Linked DNA regions of Homo sapiens: region 2 is linked to region 1. Evidence: promoter capture Hi-C in 16 types of primary human blood cells and fetal thymus (Javierre and others, 2016). All regions are on one chromosome and are shown on one strand. Each heading gives the region's core, a stretch centred on a gene start or on the middle of the fragment in contact. The rest is flanking DNA. Distances are from core to core; before and after follow the strand shown. Region 1 holds the start of FSTL4-AS1 (FSTL4 antisense RNA 1). Region 2 holds the start of IL4 (interleukin 4).

The links. The method cuts DNA at HindIII sites, captures the fragments that hold promoters and counts their contacts. A CHiCAGO score of 5 or more calls a contact.
Region 2: a contact is called between the fragment with the promoter of IL4 here and the fragment with the promoter of FSTL4-AS1 in region 1, in 5 of 17 cell types (neutrophils, naive B cells, M1 macrophages and 2 more). The highest score is 8.3, in neutrophils.

The regions. Positions count from the first base shown.
Region 1 is chr5:133,253,129-133,259,537 of GRCh38, reverse strand. It overlaps FSTL4-AS1 (FSTL4 antisense RNA 1), which reads right to left and starts at 3,093. Exons shown (of 2, transcript XR_007058939.1): 1 at 3,020-3,093. All of the region lies in intron 6 of FSTL4 (follistatin like 4), which reads left to right. The HindIII fragment of the contact is 11,288 bases long and covers 1-6,409 here.
Region 2 is chr5:132,670,656-132,676,483 of GRCh38, reverse strand. IL4 (interleukin 4) reads right to left here and starts at 2,495. Exons shown (of 4, transcript NM_000589.4): 1 at 2,299-2,495; 2 at 1,978-2,025. The coding sequence starts at 2,433. The HindIII fragment of the contact is 7,466 bases long and covers 1,772-5,828 here.

The sequences.
Region 1 (6,409 bases), core at 1,844-4,343:
CAAAAAAAAAAAAAAAAAAGAAAAAAAAATCCTTCTGATCACTTTTCATCTCCTTAAATTACAGCCATCAGTCCTTACCTTGCTCTGCCTGCTCTAACTAGCTATTTCCTGCCTCTGACCGCATCTGTGCCACATGCCCTTGCCTTGTGCCATGTGCTTCAGCTGCACTGGTCTATTTCAGCTCCCAGAGCACTCCAAGCCCCCACCCTGCCTCAAGACCTTTGTATGGGCTGTTTTCTCTAACTAGAATGTCCTTGCTCCCATTCTTGGCCTGGCTGGCTTCTTCTCATTTTAAAGATCTTCACTTAAATATTCTCTACTCAAAGAGGCTTTCCGCCACACCAGCACCCACCCCCCACACACACACCTTAATAGCCCTCCCCTGCTACTCTCTTGGTATTCTCTCATCTTGTTCTTTCTATCCGTAATGCTTATTGTACTGTGTAATTTGTTTGCATGTTCTCTGCCAGCCTATTCTGAGACACCCCCCACCCCCAGCCCTTGCTCCCTCAGTCCAGCAGTTTGGACGCTGTAGCAACAGATACAGATGTGGAGTGAAGGAGTGAGCTCCCTGTACAGAAGGTATTCTGGGGATTGGAGCCAAAGTTGGACCTACTCTTGTTAGAACATTCTCAGAAGGTTCCTGACCTGGATGACTTGGCCTGTCAAAAGACTGTTTCCCATTTCCTTATGACTTCTTCAGTGGAAATACGTTAACTGGTATTTCTTTCCCTTCTGAGGGGGTGTGTTATGTAATTAACACCAGCTGCTATAGAAATCCCAAAATCTCAGTAGTGTAGTATAGTAAAGGCTGGTTTCCCATCCTCATCAAGTCCGATGGGGTCAGGCAGCTCTCCCTAAACAGTGACTAGACCATGTTCTTCACTCTCATCAAATGCATGACCTCCAAAGACGAGGAGAGGAGAGCATGGATGATGACTGTGTTATCCTCCAGAAAAATAAAACCAACAGAAGATGTATATGTCTTCTACGGAACCAATAAAACATTGGCTTCTGTTGAAGCCAGTGTTTCAGTTTCAGTCTGAAAGCAGGAAAAAGACCAATGTCACAGCTCAGCAGTGAGACAGGAGGGTTTCCCTCTTACCCAGGCTCATTTTTTCTATCTAGGTCTTCAACGAATTGGATGAGGCCTGCCCTCATTGGGGAGGGCAATCTTCTCTACTCAGTCTACTGATTCAAATGTCAATCTCATCCAGAAACACCCTCACAGACACACCCAGGATAATGCTCGAACAAATATCTGGGTGCCTTGTGGCCCAGTCAAGGTAACACATAAAACTAACCAAGACAATGACACAGAGGTTGTGTGGCCAGGCTTGGTCACCTCCTATCACCTACCATGTCAAACCCAATGACATGGCCCCATTCTGGCTCCAAGAGAGGCCACGAAATAGTCATAATGAGTGCACAGGAATTGGAAGATGAGCTGGCATTTGGAAACACACAGCATGGCCCCCTCTTGCTAGTTAGGTAAAAACTGTTTGCTCTTCTCCACTGACTTGCTCAGGAGATTCTGGATCCAACCTTAGAGATCTGTATGAATTTTTGTAAATTCTGAGTAGCTCTGTATAATTACATAAGGTAATACATTCTTTTCCCCCTTAAGACACCAAAGTAATAGGCAGTTAGGATACTCTCCTTTTGCAAATATCTTGAGCAGAGGTATGCCCATCATCTTTGGGTGTAGACTCAGTAGGGTGGGAGAGACCCATAGAGTGGCCAAGCTGACCAAGGCTACCCCACACACAGGAACCAGCGGAGGTGGAAGAGCTGGTATGCAGCACTGTGACAGCCATGCTCCTGCTGACCAGGAGGCCCTGTGCTCTCCACCTCAGCAAGGACCCTTTGCTCCTTCTGATGGATGCCTCTCCTGCCTGCCACACTGTGGCACCCCATGATACCCAGAATGGTGATCTCACAGCCCCTGGGCACTGAGTTCTGCTCTAACTTCCTGTTCGTCTGCACACAGCAGTCACATTGAGGTTTAGTTTTCTCAAAACTAAAAAGGTGTATTGGCCAGAGGAGGCTAAATGGAACCCCAGAGCCTAGAGGGATGCCCAGGTAACCCTGCCCCTGCACAGGCCGGCCCCTCCTGCAAACAAGGAGGATACTACATCAGACTAGGATGTCTCGATAGCAGGACACAGGTCTGCCAGGCACACAGGGAGGGCTCTACCAAGAAAGAGGGCAACCAGGCTTTACAGGAGTCACGGGCCCTTAACCTGGGGTCTGTAGACAGGTTCAGGCCTCTGCTCTCCCTCCCCACTTAACACTTGTCTTCTCTGCTAAGCCATGAGCTCCAGGTTAGCAAGCACTGGGCCTGTTTTTCTTGCCAGTATATTCCCACTGTATCCTGGCTCCTGGTACCAGCTCCATAAATAATTGTTGACTGAGCACTAGCCTAATAGTTCACTTGCTTAAAACTGCTTATTAAGTCCCTTCTGCGTGGTAGGCATTGTATTAGGTGCTGGGGATACAACATAAATAAAACAGATATAGTCTCTGCCTTTATGCAGCTTACAAAGGTGTTTGTTCACACCAGAGAGCAGAACTTGATAACTAAACTGTAATAAAAGTTGAAGCAACATCAAGCAACATAGGCCAGTTGAAAAAGTAAATTACCCACTGACCCGCAGGTAATTAACTAGTAATTTTATTGCCATCCCCAAAATGAAGCAAGCAAGAGGGAATGACAATGGCAGGAAGATTGAATCTGGTTACACGTAAGGAAACAGGAGATTTGGGACAGATGCAAGTGCTCTCTTGTGTGGCTTTGGAGCAAGTCTGGCTAATACAGAGCCACCTGTGCAGGCTGGATGCACCCTGGTGCTCTAAACAGGAATGTCAAGATGAAAGGCTTTAAGACATCCTGTCCCCAGCCTCCCATCCACAAACATTCAGCAGTTATTTGAAAGGATCCCAGAGTGACAATCTCTGGTAGACGGAACAGAGGAGACAAAAAGCACACCATCCCTCCCACCCGCCTTGCCCGGCTCACCAGGATACGCCAAAGCAGCTTCACTCTGTAAACACCAGCCAAAGTCACAAGGTCCGGGAGATGTTGCCCTGTTTGTTCAGGAGACACTGGGCATGCGCACTCCCCCTTGGCTCCTCCCCTACTCGCCAACTTCACAGTGTGACTCTGGTCACAGGGATGGGACCAGATCAATAGACTTTGTCACTCCAATGCCCCAGCTTCTTTGGTGGCACCTAGGTCACCTGAGGGGTTTGTTTCAGGAAAGCACATTAATTTAGAAGGAGAATAATGTGGGAAGAGGCCGCAGTTAGAGAGATGTGTCTAAGCGCCTGGCCTGTGCTCTCTCCAAATTGCCCTCATTCCCAAGCAGGCCCCTGAGCCTGAGTTTGCCCTCCGAGGCTCAGTCAAAAATATTGATGTGCAGGCAGGTTACTGAGCTTTTGACAGGGTTTTTTTCACCAATGGCATCATTTGAAAAATGGCAAATATCCAAGTAGGAATGTGTTCCATTAGTGTGTTTCTGACATAAGAAAACTAACACCAGCTTGACAAGAATTTGAGAAATTTAATTTCTATCACTACAAAGCACCAGAATCCTGTTTGAGAGGGTGCTGATGGGTTTATGAGTGTCTTATCGAGTTCAAGTCAGTGTGAGAAATAGCGCCTGAGATTAAGGGAAACCTGTAATAGGAACTAAAACCCAGTTCTCCAACAACTGAAATGTTATGGCCTCCTGCTTTCAGGAAGGGTGTTTGTTAGCCTGCTTATGGTAAGCCCATTAATTCCCTGTGACTGCCTCTTCTCTCCAAGCTCCAAGACTCAGGGAGAAAGGTGAGGACGGGTGTTTGTGGCATCTCATGTCTGGAAAACCAAGGGTATGCTACTGCACTGGTTTGAAGGGCCTAGAGAGATAGGTCATGGCCTTGAGCCCACCTACTGTGTGCCATGCCTTGTGCTAGGCACCAGAGTGCCAGACAGCCCTGCCCAGAATCCCACTGTGGGACACGCAGCCTAGCTAGTGGTCCAGGAAGCTCTGTCTTGTGCCAACCAACCCACACTGACTTGGGCCATCACTGCAGTGTGACCCATTTGTTTTCATCCCAGGGGGATATCATGGGAAGCCCTGAGCTTTGAGAACCCCCCAACTCCCTTGCCCTCCTCAGATTCCCTACTTGCAGAGCAGCTCTCCAATGTCAGTTCTCATAGCAGGGCGTCAGTCCCTCTGTGGGCACAGACTTCTGCCCAGTAGTGCCAGACAAGCTCCCTGATGGGCTGCTCTGACCCCCAACCCAGCCCTCTCTTTCCAAAGACACCAGCCTCAGTGTGTAGACACATTCTCACCCCAGACACAGCGTCTGGCTGAGCCCTCTCTCACTGACCCCTGATCACACTCTGAGTGCTGGGCATATCACGTTTGGTCGTCCAGGGACCTTGGAAACCTTCCCACATAGTGGCTAATGAGCCCACAGATGGTCAGTCAACACAGGGGCATTGGAGCCACAGCCAGGAGCCAGAAGGACCACTCGTTGCCCCCTAGAGGGCTGCATGTGGCATCTTCATCTTCCTCTCATGTGGCCTGGCTCCCCACCAGAGCAGAGACCAGGCCTGGGGCTTAACTGGTCCACAGCCCTGCAGATGTGGCCAGCGCAGGTGAGGTTCAGGAGATGTGTGATCACTGAACACAGAAGGCCATCTCCACAAATTCCAGACCCTCGCCATCAGGATGTGAGGCTCAACAGGATGATGGGGTTTGCTTAGTTGGGCCACATCTCCTCCCTGTGAAAGCTGCCCCCATCACTCTCCAGAGAAGGCGCAGGGTGGAGGCAAGACTGTAGTAGCCTAAATCAGGTTTCAGTTCTGACGATTCTTACCGTCTTCACTGTATGACTGCGGCTATCTGCCCTGATCACGCACGATGCCCAGGCTTCCCGATGCAGTTGTGATGCAGATAGGGGGAAGGGAGGGGGCCCTCTCTGCATCCCTATGATGGTCATAGGGTGTCAATCTGCCCAATATACCCTTTCCATTAGCCATTTTACCCCAGCCCAAACACCTAGTCCCTGCCCCTGGAGGTGGCCACACGGCCCAGGCCTGATGGGCCAATCAGTCCCACACCTGCACAATACTCAGTCCTCTTGCCCTCAGTGTTTGCTTCAGGGAAGAACACAGGAGCTGTATGTGGCCAATCAGAGCTCCCCCATGCTTTTTCCAGGGCTCTCAGGCAAGATTTGTTCCCTTCCTCTGGGATCCCACATACAGAAACAATGTGAGTGTGGGGCCACCAATGGACATCTTGCAACCAAGTAGAGAATGCCACTGTCGAAGGCCCTGGATGCCTGCAACCTCTTCCACCTCCCTTAGATTTCCCATTGTGGGAACTAAACCACCTTTTTCCCCCTAAGCTATTAATAGTTGAGCATTTCTGAGTGTTTCTGTTACTAAGCCTGAAAAAGTTCTGATAAATTCACCAGGACAGTCTCTTTCAATCTTCTTCACCTAATATCTGTCCAAGTGTTTCTTTACATTAAAACTTCAGGGTCCCAGAAACATCCCATGAGGTCATCTTGGAGGTAGGGGCCAATAGTGTGAGGAGCTCAGAATGGATGAGCAGCAGGTGCCAAGCAGGCCCACGCTGAGGTCTGAAGACACAAATGCCATGGGGAGCCAGCTGGCACAGTGGTAAATAATGTTGGAGACACAGCAGGGTCAAGACTGGGGACTCTTCTGGATTCTATGTGGTGATCTGTGGGTAATAGGGAGCCATTGACAGCTGTTGAGCAGGGCTGAGATGTACCTTGTTCTGCCAGTGGCAACAAGACAGTTGCAGGCAGCAGGGGCAAACTGGAGGGGTGACCATGAAGGAGGCTATAGGGGGCCTGGGATGGGGCAGGGGAGTCCTCAAAGGGTATCGGGAGGGAAGCCTTAGTGGGACTTGGCACCCATTGGTGCTGCCACTTGAGGCGTCACTTTTACCATCATGGGTAAGTGGGCAAAGAACAGGGGCAGATGACACTTAGGGGCAAGAAAAGATGCAGTGGGAGCACTTGCAAGACTCAGGGGGTCTCCAGGGGCATGAACATAGAATAATCGGCTCCGAGTCAAAAGCGAGGGGGGCCCAAGCCCTCATTGTATCCATGTCTAAACTGAGGCCCAGTGACAGGAAGGGAGCTGCCAAGGCCACTGAGCTTGTCAGCAGCAGAGCCAGGCCTGGGGGCCAGGTGGCCTGCCCTGCTCACTCGGGGCCTAGCACATGATGCTGTCTCATTTTTTACTCTCCCTGGAAGTCACCCTGGGAAGCCACTTAGTCCTACTCTTTCCATTTAGCAAGGAAGGAGGACCCGCCAGGGGGAGGCTTGTTGACCAGGAAATAACGGGGAGTGAGGGTGGAAGGAGAGGGCTCAGTAGCCATAA
Region 2 (5,828 bases), core at 1,246-3,745, 580 kb after region 1:
AGCAGTGTCCTGGCCTGCACCCGGGGGTCTTCCAGAAACAGCCCAGATGGATTGCCCCAGACTCGGCATCCTGGATGGTTTGATCCTTTCCAACCCGGTCCCCTCCTTCTTAGAATCATCGCTTCTCTGCACCTGTTCTTGCTTTTAATCGTGGTTATATCATCTCACAATAACACTTTGCACTAACTCAAGAGCTGGATTCCAATCAACCTTGCAATCACCTTCAGAATCACTTTCATATCTTCACATGTGGAAACTGAGGTGCAGAGAGGTGTGAAGATGTGCTGAAGGCCAGCCACACAGCTAGTCAGTGGCAGAGCTGGGTCTAAAACCACAGGCAGTCTTACCTCCAGGCCCTCAGCCCTCACCCTTCCTCCAGGCCTGGCTTCTAGTGAGGTGGCCCTTCCCTTGGCTTTGTTAGAGCCTTCTCAGCAGTGCCACAGGCCTCCAGAGACCCAGTGCTCAACCCGGTGGACTCTTGGCTTCTAGTAGGAGCCATCTCGGTTGGATGGACTTGGAGATTTTATACACACACACACACACACACACACACATATACATACACATATATACATACACACATATATATACACACACACATATATACACACACACACACACACACACACACACATAAACTGTTGCCCAGGTGCAGTGGCTAATCCCAGCACTTTGAGAGGCCGAGGTGGACGGATTGCTTGAGCCCAGAAGTTCGAGACAAGCCTGGGCAAAATGGCAAGACTCCATCTCTACAAAAAAATACAAAAATTAGCCAGGCGTGGTGGTGCACACCTGTCGTCCCGGCTACTTGGGAGGCTGAGGTAGGAAGATAGCTTGAGCCTGGGAGGTGGAGGCTGCTATGAGCTGAAATCGCACCACTGCACTCCAGCCTGGGTGACAGAACAAGACCCTATCTCAAAAAAAAAAAAAAGTGTGTATTTGCCCTTCAGAATCTCATCCTGTATCGGACTCCCGGGATAACTAATGAAATGAGATAGTCCAGCTAAAGGCCCGAAGAGCAGTTTCCCTCATGAAGCAGGATGGGCCCTGTTCTATGGTCTGGGTGCTGGAGTGTGACCCTGCCCAACACACAGGGCTTCACTCCTGGCCATATCATCTCCCTAGTTTGCATGGAAAGCAGGTAGTTAGGAGACCACTGTGAAATTGAGGCTTTGGGGCTTTCATTCTCAGCCGTGTGTTTCCATGAAAACAGGAACTGAAATGCACAAAACTATTGATACGGCTGTAGTCATGTGTTTGTCAGAGAAAATGCACTATCAGCTGTCAAATCTATCTCCTCCCACTACAGATAGAGGGGTGGGGGTGAGGCAGCACAGGAGGCAGAGAGGCGAGGTGCCCAGGCAGCCCGAAGCAGGGATGTGCTGGACGCTGCCCAGCAGGATGGTTCCAGACCGAGCTGGAGGGGAGTTCGGCCGGCCAGAGCAAGCTGAGGAGCTCTGGACGGCCAGCCCCGGAACCCAGAGGGCTGTTAGGTGGCCAGGCTGTGGAAGAGGAGGGGCTCTGGCGATACCTTTTCTGTTGCCATAGGAAGTCTCTTAGACAAAATGAAAGCTCCCTCAACCTGTCATCTCAATATCTGTTTCTGTGAGAGTATTTGGTTTTTCAGAAATGTATGGGCCAGAAAAATTCTCTCATTCAACAGGCATTTATTGAGTGCCTCCTACGTTCCAGGCACTATGCCAAAGCTAAGTAAAACCCAAGAGGGCTTTTCTTTGACCAGGATCTGAGTCAGGACTACAGCATGTAAGCTTTCTATTACATGTCTTCTAAATCAAGTGAAACCAGAAAGACCAAAACATGCTTAAGAGTAAAGATCAGACTTCTCGTTCTTTGAAAACATCTAACACCTTAGAGTTAATTTGGGCCCGCTCGTTTTCCATTAGACAAGTTTCTTGTTCAGACATTTGGGGATGGATCTCCCCATTTGCTAAAACAGACCGTGGGACGGCTTCTTACCTTGGAGGCAGCAAAGATGTCTGTTACGGTCAACTCGGTGCACAGAGTCTTGGTCCAGGCAGAAATGAGAGAGCAAGAGACAGAGTTAACCTCCAACCGGACAGAGAAGTCCTTGATGAGCAGCTCTCACTCCCTCCAACTGAGGAAACTTCCTACAAACCCTCAGAAAAAAGAGTGGCAGGGGAGAAGCCTCGCTGTGTGCCCTGGACTGCCACCAACCACCAGTTCCAACTTCTCTAGCAGCTGTTAACGTTTTCATGCCTAGAAATACTGAGAGCATCACCAGAACATCTGGAGAGATGGTGCCAGATAGGTACTCACCTTCTGCTCTGTGAGGCTGTTCAAAGTTTTGATGATCTCCTGTAAGGTGATATCGCACTTGTGTCCGTGGACAAAGTTGCCGGCACATGCTAGCAGGAAGAACAGAGGGGGAAGCAGTTGGGAGGTGAGACCCATTAATAGGTGTCGATTTGCAGTGACAATGTGAGGCAATTAGTTTATCAGGAGAAGCTAACGATGCAATGCTGACAAAGATATCTCTATATATAGATTTAAAATTGCTGAAACCGAGGGAAAATGAGTTTACATTGGAAATTTTCGTTACACCAGATTGTCAGTCACTTGGGGCCAATCAGCACCTCTCTTCCAGGAGAAAAAATGCCTCACAAACAGGTAAAATGTTCCTGTGAAATCAGACCAATAGGAAAATGAAACCTTTTTAAAAAATTAACTACAAAGTTTCAGCATAGGAAATTACACCATAATTTGCTCTTTAGATTAATCTTATCAGCTTGGGGCTGCTGCTGGCTTTTTGCTTTGCATAGAAGGGAGAGGCCACAGGTGTCCGAATTTGTTGTAATGCAGTCCTCCTGGGGAAAGATAGAGTAATATCAAGAAAGTTTTACTTGAAAAGTATTTTAACCTGGCTTCTTCCAAGTACAGGTGGCATCTTGGAAACTGTCCTGTCATGGAAAAGCTGATCTGGGGCTCCTTCTCTGCATAGAGGCAGAATAACAGGCAGACTCTCCTACCCCAGCACTGGGGGACAATGTTCTCCCAAGTTTAGGTGTTTTGAGAAGGACAGGTCGTATCAGGTGAGGCCTAGTTTGGGTCCCAGCAGGTCCATAAGGTCCTTACCCATAAGGAAGCCCTTGGCAAGGTAGGTCTATTCTGAGGTTTCAGGAATGACTTTTTTTTTTTTTTTTCTGAGACAGGGTCTCACTCTGTCACCCAGGCTGAAATGCAATGTTGTGATCAGGGATCACTGCAGCCTCAACCTCCCAGGCTCAAGTGATCCTCCCACCTCAGCCCCCCTAGCAGTAGGTGCGTGCCACCGCACCATGCCTGGCTCATTTTTATTTTTATTTTTTGATAGAGATAAGAGTCTCACTATGTTGCCTAGGCTCATCTCAAATTCCTGGGCTCAAGTGATCCTCCTACCTCAGTCTCCCAAAGCTCTGAGATTACAGGTGTGAGCCACCATGCCTGGCCAGGAATGCCCACTTTTTGAATGGAACCTAAACACATCCTCAGCTAATTAGGAAAAAGAGCTACAGTCTTACCAACTTACAAATCAGCCCTCCTAGTCAGTGCCCCACCACCCGCCCTGCTTGTTTTTTATTGAATTCATGTGGACACAATAAGGTGCTCATTGCCTCACCCCAGCAGTGAACGTAAGGACCCCACCACTCACTCAGGTGCCTGGGCCCTGTGCAAGGCCACCCCACCTCCCAGTAAGGGCTCATGGGCAGCAGGATTCTTGGGCCCTGCCTGCCCCCTGCTTTTCTCCCAGAACCTTCCCTTCCCTTGGTCTCTGACCTTCTTTTCCCTATGAATTTCTTTTTTTTTTTTTTTTTTTTGAGATGGAATCTTGCTCTGTCACCCAGGCTGGAGTGCAGTGGCGTGATCTTAGTTCACTGCAAGCTCCGCCTCCTGGGTTCATGCCGTTCTCCTGCCTCAGCCTCCCCGAGTAGCTGGGACTACAGGCACCTGCCACCACGCCCGGCTAATTTTTTGTATTTTTAGTAGAGACGGGGTTTCACCGTGTTAGCCAGGATGGTCTCCATCTCCTGACCTCGTGATCCGCCTGCCTCGGCCTCCCAAAGTGCTGGGATTACAGGCGTGAGCCACTGTGCCTGGGCCTCCCTATGAATTTATTCTGGAAGATCATCTAAAAATGTGTGTTGCTAAGGTTTTGCCTCTGTTCCACTTCCCCGCCCCCCCCTCACCACCCCCTGCCCCCATACTCTGTCACCCAGGCTGGAGTGCAGTGGTGATCATAGCTTACTGTAGCCTTGATCTCCTGGGCTCAAGGCATTCTCCAGCCTCAGCTTCCCGAGTAGCTGGGATTACAGGCACATGCCACCACGCCTGGCTAATTTCTGTATTTTTTTTTTTTTTTTAGTAGAGATGGGGTTTCACCATGTTGGCTAGGCTGGTGTCGAACTCCTGGCCTCAAAATGATCCACCCACCTCAGCCTCCCAAAGTGCTGGGATTATAGGCGTGAACCACCATGCCCGGCCAAGGTTTTGCCTCTGTTTTGGATCTTTTCTTCCCTTATTATTATTATTATTAAATTGACAAATAAGTATTGCACATATTTGTGCTGTATGATATAATGTTTTGAAATGTGCATGTTATGGAATTGCTACATCAAGCTACTTATACAATACTTCACATATTTATTTTTGGTAAGAACATTTAAAATCTACTCTGTGATTTATTTATTTATTTTGAGATAGAGTCTTGCTCTGTTGCCCAGACTGGAGTGCAATGGCGCAGTCTCAGCTCACTGCAACCTCTGCCTCCTGAGCTCAAGCAATTCTCCTGCCTCAGCCTCCCGAGTAGCTGGGATTACAGGTGCCTGCCACCACGCCCAGCTAATTTTTGTATTTTTAATAGAGACAGGGTTTTACCATGTTGGCCAGGCTGGTCTCGAACTCCTGACCTCAGGTGATCTACCCACCTCAGCCCCTGCAAAGTGCTGGGATTACAGGTGTGAGCCACTGCGCCTGGCCTGTCTTCATGATTTTTAAGTATACAAGACATTGATATCAACTGTTGTCACCATGTCGTACAATGGCTCTCTTTAACTTAACTCCTCCCAGTTGAAATTTTATATCCTTTGACCAACATCTTCCTGATCACCACCCTCCCAGCCCCTGGTGACCATCATCCTACTCTCTGCCTCCCTGAGTTTGGCTTTTTTATATTTCACATATGCGTGAGATCATGTGGTATTTGTCTGTCTGTGCCTGGATTTTTTCACTTAGCATAATGTCCTCCAGGTTCATCCATGTTGTGGTGAATGACAGCGTTTCCTTCTTTTTTAAGGCTGTATAGTATTCCACTGTCTATATATAGTTTTGGATCTTATCGCAGTGCCTCAAGTTCTGTGAAGGAGAGAATCTGGATAATTGTATCAGGAGGTCCTTAGACCATATTTAGGATCCTTCCATTGGGACTGGGCAGCAAGGTTACCAAACTAAATGCAGTGGCTTCAGATGCCAAACCACCTGAGATGAGCCACACCTCACAGGTGAGGGGTATGGTCCCCCACAACACTGCCCTTGCTTCAGACGCCAGCTGCACATTCAGGGGTTCCCAGCCCACCCTCACTGCTGACTGGCTGCAAATCTGGGAGTTTCCACTACCCCTCAGGTTCCAGAATGCACTAGGATGACTGACAGAACTCAGGAGAGTGCTATACGTAAGGCCACAGTTTTATCATAACAAAAGCATTCAAATCAGAACCAGCCAAAAGAGGAGACACAGGGGCGAGATGGAGGAGGGGCCCAAACACAAAGCTCTCATTGTCTTCCCCGTGTGGCGTCAGAGGCATCACCTTCTC